Linked DNA regions of Homo sapiens: regions 2 and 3 are each linked to region 1. Evidence: promoter capture Hi-C in 16 types of primary human blood cells and fetal thymus (Javierre and others, 2016). All regions are on one chromosome and are shown on one strand. Each heading gives the region's core, a stretch centred on a gene start or on the middle of the fragment in contact. The rest is flanking DNA. Distances are from core to core; before and after follow the strand shown. Region 1 holds the start of SLC2A6 (solute carrier family 2 member 6). Region 2 has its middle 12 kb from the start of GBGT1. Region 3 holds the start of SARDH (sarcosine dehydrogenase).

Region 1 (3,238 bases), core at 311-2,810:
GATTACAGGCACACACCACTGCACCTGGCCTAAAGTTGATTTTAAAAGAAAAAAAATACATTTTAAAAAAAGAGAAGGCCGGGTGCGGTGACTCACGCCTGTAATCCCAGCACTTTGTGAGGCTGAAGCGGAAGGATCACAAGGTCAGGAGTTCAAGACCAAGCTGGCCAACATGGTGAAACCCCGTCTCCACTAAAAATACAAAAATTAGCCGGGCGTGGTGGCACATGCCTGTAATCCCAGCTACTTGGGAGGCTGAGGCAGGAGAATCGCTTGAACTCGGGAGGTGGAAGTTGCAGTAAGCTGAGATCGTGCCACTGCACTCCAGCCTGGCCAACAGAGCGAGACTCCGTCTCAAAAAAAAAAAAAAAAATACACATATAGATATGTAAAAATACATACACATATATATGTATATACGTATATATATGGCCACGAGGACTGTGCAGCCTGATCACCATACCAGGGTGTGCCTGAGTCCAAAGCCTATGATCTTGATGGCAAGAAAACGGTGACGTAAAGGGGCTGCACAGTTTAATGGGGGCCCCAATAGCAAATATGCAAAATAGGCACATGAGGAAAAGACTGGAAGAGGCTAAAACGCCATCAAGGTCAGGCTGACGGGAGATGGATGTGATTTTATTGTTCTATTATGGTTGTATTTCAATCATAATAAAAGGGAATTCTAACTTTTAAAAATGCTTTACCATGTTAATAGCTAAAATGGGAAATGACCCAAATACTCAGCAACAAAGGCTCCGTTTAAAAGCGTGTGTGGCACGTCCATCCAACAGAGCAGGGCGTGATTCCGTCCTCTTCCCGAAAAGGCCCAAAGGGAGAGGTGGAACTGCTGTGGGATTTTTTGAGGACGGTCTTCCCGGGAATTTTCCATTTCTGCTTTTCTTATTTTTCAATGTTATCTTACTACCTGGGTTACGTGTCACGAGCTCAGGTTATTTCTACCACCAGAGCCTGGGGTGGAGGATACAGACCTCGCCCACTGGAGCTGCCCACAGCGCCTCGCCGGCCCCTCCTGCCTCCTTCGTCCCGCACATCCGCTGCTGCCCTGACACACCCCGATTCCCTGGTGCCAGGGAGAGCCAGGGCAGAGGTGGCCCTGAGACGCCACGCGACGGGGAGGGCTAGAGCGTAAGGAGGAGCGAGGTGCGCATTCGCTGTGACCCTGGCGCTCGGCTTCGCCTCTCTGGGCCTCGGTTTCCACCCCGCGGGAGCGAGTACGACAGGGGCTGCGCGCATTGCCGCAGTCACGCCTGCAAGAGCCGGGCCGGGTGAGCCGCTTCCGGCGCTCCGCGGGGGCCCCGGACGATCCAGCAGGGGCTCCGCCCTGGGACCCCCATCCTGTCTTGGGGCGTGACCTTCGGGGGCGCACGCGGTGCCGGCCGCGCCCGGGGAAGCCGGGTCCGCATCCGAGCATCAGGACAGCCTGCGGCCGCCCCATTGGCCGGCGTGTCTCTGCAGGGCCGTCCCACAGCCAATAGCGGCCAAGGGGCGGAGCCTGGCCGGTGCCCTCGGAGCTGCTGGCCCCGGGCGGCTGCTCCAGTCTGAGCGCCCTCCGCTCGCCCCGAGAGAGACCCGGCCATGCAGGAGCCGCTGCTGGGAGCCGAGGGCCCGGACTACGACACCTTCCCCGAGAAGCCGCCCCCGTCGCCAGGGGACAGGGCGCGGGTCGGGTGAGAGTCGCTAGGTTGGGGGCTGCGGGTGGGGCCTGGGGGTGGCCCTGGTTCCCTCCAGCCGGCGGCAGGCTCCCGCCCTGGGCCTCCCCTGACCTAGTCGCCACCGAGGGGCCATCTGGCTCCCTCCTGTCCCAGACACGCTACTCCTATTTAAGGAACTGGTCCCCCTAAGGGAAGGAACGATCCACGAGAGTACCGGGCCCAGCCCCCCACTGCCACAGACAGTGAGACTGAGGCCCCAGCGAGCAGGGGTTCTGCCTGAGGTCACACAGCAAGCCTCCAGCCGCCGCCCTGGGGGCAGAACCAGAGCCTCCTCTTCCGGAGAAAAGGCCCCAGCACCAGAGGCTCAGCCACTGCGGATGAGCTAACAATGGCCTGGGAATTTCCCAGGGGAGCTGGGGCTCAGGCCCTGGGAACGTGAATGGCCTTGGACCCAGGCCTCCCTAGCACTGCCCGCTGAGCCGGGCAGCCACTGGGTTCAGAAAAGGCAATGGTCCCTGGAGGAGGGACTCAGAGACCCTGGTCTTTTTGTCCGCCACCATCACCAGGACCCTGCAGAACAAAAGGGTGTTCCTGGCCACCTTCGCCGCAGTGCTCGGCAATTTCAGCTTTGGGTATGCCCTGGTCTACACATCCCCTGTCATCCCAGCCCTGGAGCGCTCCTTGGATCCTGACCTGCATCTGACCAAATCCCAGGCATCCTGGTTTGGGGTAAGGACCATCCTCTGGAGGAGGGTGGGTGCAGGAAGGAGGGACCTGCTGAGCCTTATCTCCAGCTAGGAACCTCCCAAATTCTCCACCTTGGGGGTCCCTCCAGGGCCCTGGTCCCCCCTCCCCCAGCCATCCAGGCCACTAGTGGGTGGGGTAAAGCTACAGGATTCCTCTGAAATGAGGAACTGAAAGCCAGTGGAGAGGGTGAGGGAAGGAGCAGGTGGGGAGGTGGCTGTCAGGGTCTATACTAGGTGGGGCTGAGGCTTCCCCGGGTCCCCACACCCACAGTTGGCTGGATGGGGGCAAGGGTATCAGGTGTCAGTGGGGAGAGGCACTGGCTGGGGCAAGGAGAGTCCGCAGGACAGATTGTGGGCTGATGGAGAGGAAGATCCCAGAGTCCCAGAGTCTAAAATTATAATCTTAATAGCCTCATATGTAGAGTTGTTAACATAGTAGTTAAGATAAAAATTCCCAAGGTTTACTGAGCACTTCCTATGTGCCAGGCATGTGTTGGGCACTGAACGTTCATTGATTCTCAGGGCCAACGCCACGAGGTAGAACTTGCGCTCTCCCCATAAGACAGCTGAAGAAACTGAGGTGCAGACAGGCTGGGCAATGTGCCCAGGTCCCACTACCAGTTAGCAGAGTCCAGAGGGGGTCCCAGTTGCTGCTGTACAGGGAACTTAAGAACCTCCAAATCTTAAAGCCCAGTACCTTCAAGTCACAGAATTCTCCTGTATTAAAATATTAGACATTTAAACATCAGGCTGGACAGAACCACTGTGGATATGTGGCGCAGCACCTCTTCCTTAGAGCAGAATTCCCCGTTTGGG
Region 2 (3,238 bases), core at 369-2,868, 300 kb after region 1:
TGGGACCTCCATCAAAAATAGACCCCAAGTAAATGAGCCCCTTTCTGCTATCCTGTTACCATTGTAGACTGTTGTTACTAAGATTGAAGCTCATACTTGTAGAACTGAACCCAAATATCAGGGAAATGCTTTAGCAAATTTTTATGCTAAATCAGCTAGTGCTGAAACTGTTAAGAAATGCAATCTGAATGAACTCCATTGGATTAAGCCGAGCCCACTTCCTTATGATGACCTGCTTAGTAAACAGTGCAGTGCACCTGATTTGGAAAAGCAAAATTGGTATCTAAAAGGATGTAAATTTAATGTGATGCACAGACTCACGGAGGGCCCAGACGGCCGCCTGGTCCTTCCTGAGTCTTTGAAGCTTCCATTGTTGAAAACGCTGCACTCCACCGCTCATCATGGAACAGACAAAATGATCCAAATTATGAAAAAATACTGGTCGGGTGACTGTTCCAAAATTGCTAAAATGGTTTATAATCAATGTTTGACTTGTCAAACTCATAATCCTGGAAAAACAATCAAAACTTCAGGTCATATATTTCCACCACCTGATGAACAATTTGAGCATTTACAGATGGACTTAATTTAGTTGTGACGCGCAATGGGGTATCAGTATGTTCTTGTAATAGTTTGCATGTTTTTGGCCGGGCGTGGTGGCTCACGTCTGTAATCCCAGCCCTTCGGGAGGCCGAGGTGGGTGGATCACAAGGTCAGGAGATCGAGACCATCTTGGCTAACATGGTGAAACCCCCTCTCTACTAAAAAATACAAAAAAATTAGCCGGGCGTGGTGGCAGGCACCTGTAGTACCAGCTACTCGGGAGACTGAGGCAGGAGAATGGTGTGAACCCGGGAGGCAGAGCTTGCAGTGAGCCGAGATCGCGCCACTGCACTCCAGCCTGGGCAACAGAGCAAGACTCCGTCTCAAAAAAACAAAAAGGGGCCCCTTCAGAGTCCTGGAACTGTACACCTGTTGGAGACTTTAAAGTAAAGCTGACCAAGGAAATCTCTCTTCAGAAGCAGACAGCATCCTAGTTTTGGACAGCTTTCCCAAGATCATGGACCAAGACTTCTCTATCATCAGGAAAGCCTTATGTGTTTTTCTGTTTTCCTCATCTTCTGCCCTAATCTTGTCCTTTTCCCTACAGGCAAACCCATGGCACCATAATCAGTGGATGGCTTTAGCTCAAGTTTATGCTCTAGCACAAAACCAGAGTAATTGTTGGGTTTGTGGGCTAATGCCAAAAAAAAATCAGGAAATGATTCCACTGGTGCCAGTGCCCCTCCGCGTTCCCAGCGAGAGCTACCTGAAACTAAGGGAAGAACAGAAAGTTATTCTTGATATGCTAAACATCACTGCTACTTGCTTCCTACACTCACTAAAAACAACACTCTAACTTTTTCAATTGATAAGTCGATCATTACCAAATATAAAAAAACAATCCAAGGCTGGGTGCAGTGGCTCATGTCTGTAATCCCAGCACTTTGGGAGGCTGAGGCAGGTGGATCAACTGAGGTCAGGAGTTTGAGACCAGCCTGGCCAACATGGTAAAACCCCATCTCTACTAAAAATACAAAAATTAGCCAGGCATGGTGGTAGGCGCCTATAATCCCAGCTACTGGGGAGGCTGAGGTAGGAGAATCACTTGAACCTGGGAGGCAGAGGTTGCAGTGAGCCAAGATCGTGCCATTACACTCCACTCCAGCCTGGGCAACAAGAGCGAAACTTCGTCTCAAAAAAAAAAATCCAAGTGATGCCAGCAAAAGATACATTGTGCTTCCAGACATCACGCACTCAAGATTTGGGAATTACTTATGTTGATACAAGTGATTGCTTGTATAATGTAACTGGATTAAATCCAGTAGGGTCTCTTTTTTACTAGATATGGTTATATACCCTTACAACATGCTATAAAGGGGCCACAGAAAAGTAAATTTCCCACTGGACGTTGTTCAGGAGGTATGCAGATTTGTGGTCGAACAAACCTGACTGATCTCTGCTCAAATGCAACTAGGTGGCCCTCTTTTCCAATCCCCAAGGGTCTATACTGGGTCTGTGAAGAGTCTGCGTATCCTGTTCTGCCTCCTCATTGGTTGGGTTCTTGTTATGTGGCCTGGCTTGCTCCTGCCTTTCAAATAGCTTCCCCTGAAAATTCTCATGATGGCCCTTATGATTGGAGGCCAAAATGATCAATAACTGAAATTAGCACTAGCCTTGAAATATTTGAGGATAAGCTCGTTTCTACTGAGGAAAGATTCCAGTGGGATTCCTGGGGGTGCACTCTTGGTGGTAGTGAGATAGCAGTTGTATGGAATTTAAAGCTAATTTGTAAATTGGGAAAAATCTTGGATTTTGTAATCAATCAGACCTCCCAGGGTTTCAGATGGGTAGAAGCTGCTCTCAGAAAGATAGATGACAGGGCTGGGCATGGTGGCTCACGCCTGTAATCCCGGCATTTGGGAGGCCAAGGCGGGCAGATCTCTTGAGGTCAGAAGTTTGAGACCAGCCTGGCCAACATGGTGAAACCCCATCTCTACTAAAAATACAAAAATTAGCCAGGCATGGTGGCTCATGCCTGTAATCCCAGCTACTTGGGAGGCTGAGGCAGTAGAATCGCTTGAACCCAGGAGGCGGTGGTTGCAGTGAGCCAAGATAATGCCATTGCACTCCAGCCTGGGCAACAGAGTGAGACTCCATCTCAAAAAAAAAAAAGATAGATGACAACACGTGAATTCAGCAAAAACACTTACTGGAACATCGTGCAACCTCAGATCTTTTTGCTCAAGCTGGAAGCCTAGGTTTGGTGTTAAACAAAACTGAATGTTGTACTACTTATCTCTTACCTGATTTTGTTATTACAGGAAGCTTAATTTAAAAGGTGCTGATACTGCTGTTTCCTTAGACACTGCCACCAAATACATTAAAGACATCTCTCAAGAGAAAGGAGCCCATGACATGTTTACAATAGGCAACTAACGGTTTGCAGGCATCCTAAGGGTGGATGGCAAGCTTGGGTTTTCCAAGGGCTTCTAATCCTTATAATTCTTCTAGTAGGTTTCCAAGTTATTATGACTTGTATTACCAATGTAACAATGAAAATGAGTAACTGTTTAAGTCAGGCCACTTTACAGCAAACCATGGTCCTTAATCGCTATCATACTCTAAACGAGGATAATGACCAATTGGACCCTAACACTGTTGAACTGCCTATATTGTCTGAACCTTCACTTGGCTA
Region 3 (3,238 bases), core at 421-2,920, 260 kb before region 1:
CCACCACCCCTTGTCCAAAGTGCAGGTTCATTGTGCTGCCCTCTTGGCTTGTAACAGTTTTGCAACAGTTGCAACTTGTCTTTGAGTGCAGGGACAGGAGAAGTGTGGGCTACCCGGCCACTGCCCTGGAGCTGTGGTGACTGCTGCGTTTTTCTCCCATGCACTTGCACGTCCAGGACTCCTGGGAGAACTTGGGCCACACTCCTTCCTTGCCCTCTTGAGCTCATTCGTCACCCTGTTGGGTGAGCACAGCCCTAGCTCAGGCCACTGGGCAAGCCACACCATCCAAAGAGGAGGTCCTCTGCCCCAGGACCCCCACACCACCCCAGGTAAGCCTCAAACTGGCGGGGCCAGCTTTCCACTGGGCAGCCAGGGGCCTAAGCCAGTGGGCCCTTTGCCTTTGAGGCAGGGACTGAGAATGGTGTCAGCACGTGGTCAGGCCCAGAGCCCAGGCCCCCTCCTCTAAGAGGTCCTCCTGGATTCCCTGCTGGAAGGAAGCCAGCCTTGTGGTGTCGTGTCTCTCCCTGGATCTGTCTGCTTCGTGGACCCTGAGCCCCTCGAGGGCAGGGGCTGGGTCTTAGATGTCACTATAGGTTTCCCAGCAGTGCTTTGTACACATTGGGCATTCAGTAAATGTAGAGGATAGACAAGCTGGCAACAAGACAGTCGGACATCCTCGGTGTGAATAAGAACACAATGATTTGATTGGTATTAATTACAGCAGTTTACTATACGATCGCTTCCGGTATTGGCAGCTGGCATCATTACAATATTAACAGACTGCCATTGAAATGCCCCGTCTTTGATCCAGCGCGAGGAGGAGATGTGACTTTCCATCAGCACCTGTTCTGATTCTTTGGGCATCCAGAGGTGTATTCTTTCTGGGTTTCCTCCACACCCCTCCTCTGGGTGTCTACTTCTGTCTGGGAAGGGGTAACTTGCCCCAGCCCAGAGTCAGGCTGCAGCATCCGGTCTGCCTCCTCCACCAGCTTGCTGTGTGGCCCCCTCCCTGGGCACTGCTGTCCCCAACAGTCAATGGAGGCTGGAATCCCTGCCCTGGGGGCTACGTGCTGTGCAGTAGCCAGTGGCTTGGGGGCATCTCCCCAAACACCAGAGGGGTCTGGGAGCTCGGGAAAGCAGGACGCAGACAGACCAGGAGACCCTGTCCCTGGGAAGCTGACCCAGGCCTTCTCACTCGCCTCTGAAGGCAGTGAGCATCCTGTCCCTGGGGGTGAGCAAACTGGGGCATGTGCTGAGATGACCTCACCAAAGGAGCCTCCCTGCAGTGGACGGGCCCCTGGCCCAAGCTGCTGCTGACCCCACCTTTCCTGCCCACCCTGCCTGTGCATAGCTCCTTCTGGGCGCGGGGAGCTCGGGCGGCTCCAGCAGGCAGGTGGTGCCTGGGTCTACTGCAGCAACCCTGAGGCGCCTGTTTCAGAGACGAGGAAATGAGGGTTGGAGCGGAAGGGTGACTGCCAGGTCGCCTACGGGTAATGGGGCATGGGGTTCACAACCCTGCTCTGCCGCCCTCAGAGGGAGCTGCCCACAGGGCTGGCCTAGAAGCCCCAACTAAGCTGGCCTAGAAGCCGCAGTGGTGGGCGGTACGCTCCGCCCAGATCCTGGGCGGAGACATGGGGCTGGCAGCGAGGGTGGGGGGCGGGGGAGGCCTGGAGTTCCGGCCAGGCCACTGCTTGGGAAGCAAGAAGGTGAAGGCACCTCTGCTGGGCCAAGCACTCTTAGGGCCGAGGGGCACTGCAGCTGACAAGAGGTACTTGGAGGTACACCCCCAGGGAGGGACGAGGCTGGGGCCTCCCCTATGTGGGCGGGGCTGGGCCTGGTCAGATCTGGCTGGGATCTCCCTCTGCCTCTGGCTGCAGGGACCATCCAGCTGCATGAGCAGGACCAGGGTTCACCATATGGGCAGCTGCCTCCCCGCCCCCTGCCGCTCCTCCCCACAAGTCTGCCTACCCTCACCAGGCGAAGGTGCCAGGCGCTCTCCTCGCTTGACCCCCACCACCCCCTGAGCCTGGGAGGAGGAGGGCGTTCCTGGGTCCTCTGCTTTGCAGTGAGGTTAAGTTGTTGCTCGAGGCCCCAGTCCTGTGACAAAACCCCCACCCATCTGTCTGATCCCAAGCCCAGGGCTGTCCTCAGCCCTCACTCCTGGGAAGCTGACTCAGGTACGAGACAGAGTTGGAGGGGGCAAGAGAGTGGGTTAATGTGGAGGCAGCTGTTTCCAGGGAGGTGGCAGGCAGGAGGGGCTCTGGGCTGTCCCCGCTGGGGCCGCTGCCAGCCCCCAGTCTGACAGTCAGAAGAGCCCTGACTGACCAGGCAGGTGGTGAAGGGGCACGTGGCAGCCTCCGGCGCCAGCAGCTGTCGCTTTTTGGGCACAGTCGGAAGGAGGAGGGAGGCTTTTGCCCACAGCTGACCAGGTGTGCTGTGCCATGCGGCACCGTGGTGGGTGGTGGGTGGTGGGGTGGGGGTGTTCAGCCTTGGAGGGCCTTCCTCGGTGCCACTCAAGCTGGCTTTCCCCTGGTGGGGCACCACTTTTGGGGGCTCCTGGAAGACTGTGGACCTTCAAGGACTGAAGGTATGTACAGACACATGCAGGAGGCATGCCTCCTTGTCCGGGGCCACCTCTGCAGGCAGGAGCCAGGCGGGCTGACACACTGAGGGCTGAGAGGCTGAGGACAAGCTCCAACACCTCCTCACTCCCCTACGCCGCTGCAATCAGACTCCCTGCTCCCTCCCTTGGGATGGGGCACTGGGGCAGGAGATGGGGGGCAGCCCTGACCAGCCTGAGAGCTGGGATCCCCCTCACATCCCCCACTGTGCCTAGGACAGGGTTCTGGGCTTCGTCAGGGCTTGGGCAGTGCCCACAGTTCAGGTGGGACAGAGTGTGGCAGTGGGTCCTGAGTCCCCCTGGGATGGTCAGAAGAGGGGGCAGGAGAGAGTCCCTGGCACTGCCACATGGAGGCCCTATGACCCTGGTCACCTCAGGGAGCCTCTCCGTGTGTCAGACTCCCCCGCTGTGAAGTAGAGACATTATCATGTGTCTATAGGTGTTCAATGAGAGTGAACGAACGTGCATAGCTATGGTCCACTCTTGAAAAAGGATGCTGACTTTCTTAGATAATTATATCAGTCATTCATACTGACGTAGGTGGCACAGCACTTCACATCTTGGATCACAGCCACATCCCTTTCACTTTTCCTGCAGATCCCAGAAAAGGGCAGTGGA

What was found. Contacts are between HindIII fragments. The CHiCAGO score rates a contact against its expected background, and 5 or more counts as called.
Region 2: a contact is called between a fragment that was not itself captured here and the fragment with the promoter of SLC2A6 in region 1, in 1 of 17 cell types (total CD8 T cells). The highest score is 6.9, in total CD8 T cells.
Region 3: a contact is called between the fragment with the promoter of SARDH here and the fragment with the promoter of SLC2A6 in region 1, in 1 of 17 cell types (non-activated CD4 T cells). The highest score is 5.4, in non-activated CD4 T cells.

What each region holds. Positions count from the first base shown.
Region 1 is chr9:133,477,421-133,480,658 of GRCh38, reverse strand. SLC2A6 (solute carrier family 2 member 6) reads left to right here and starts at 1,560. Exons shown (of 10, transcript NM_017585.4): 1 at 1,560-1,691; 2 at 2,243-2,405. The coding sequence starts at 1,600. RefSeq lists enhancers at 1,049-1,550, 1,971-2,030 and a silencer at 1,161-1,810. The HindIII fragment of the contact is 7,664 bases long and covers 1-3,238 here.
Region 2 is chr9:133,174,341-133,177,578 of GRCh38, reverse strand. No RefSeq gene overlaps it. Among named protein-coding and RNA genes, the nearest start is that of GBGT1, 12 kb to the right of the region's middle. The HindIII fragment of the contact is 2,504 bases long and covers 367-2,870 here.
Region 3 is chr9:133,736,784-133,740,021 of GRCh38, reverse strand. It overlaps SARDH (sarcosine dehydrogenase), which reads left to right and starts at 1,670. Exons shown (of 21, transcript NM_001134707.2): 1 at 1,670-1,768. The HindIII fragment of the contact is 9,698 bases long and covers 1-3,238 here.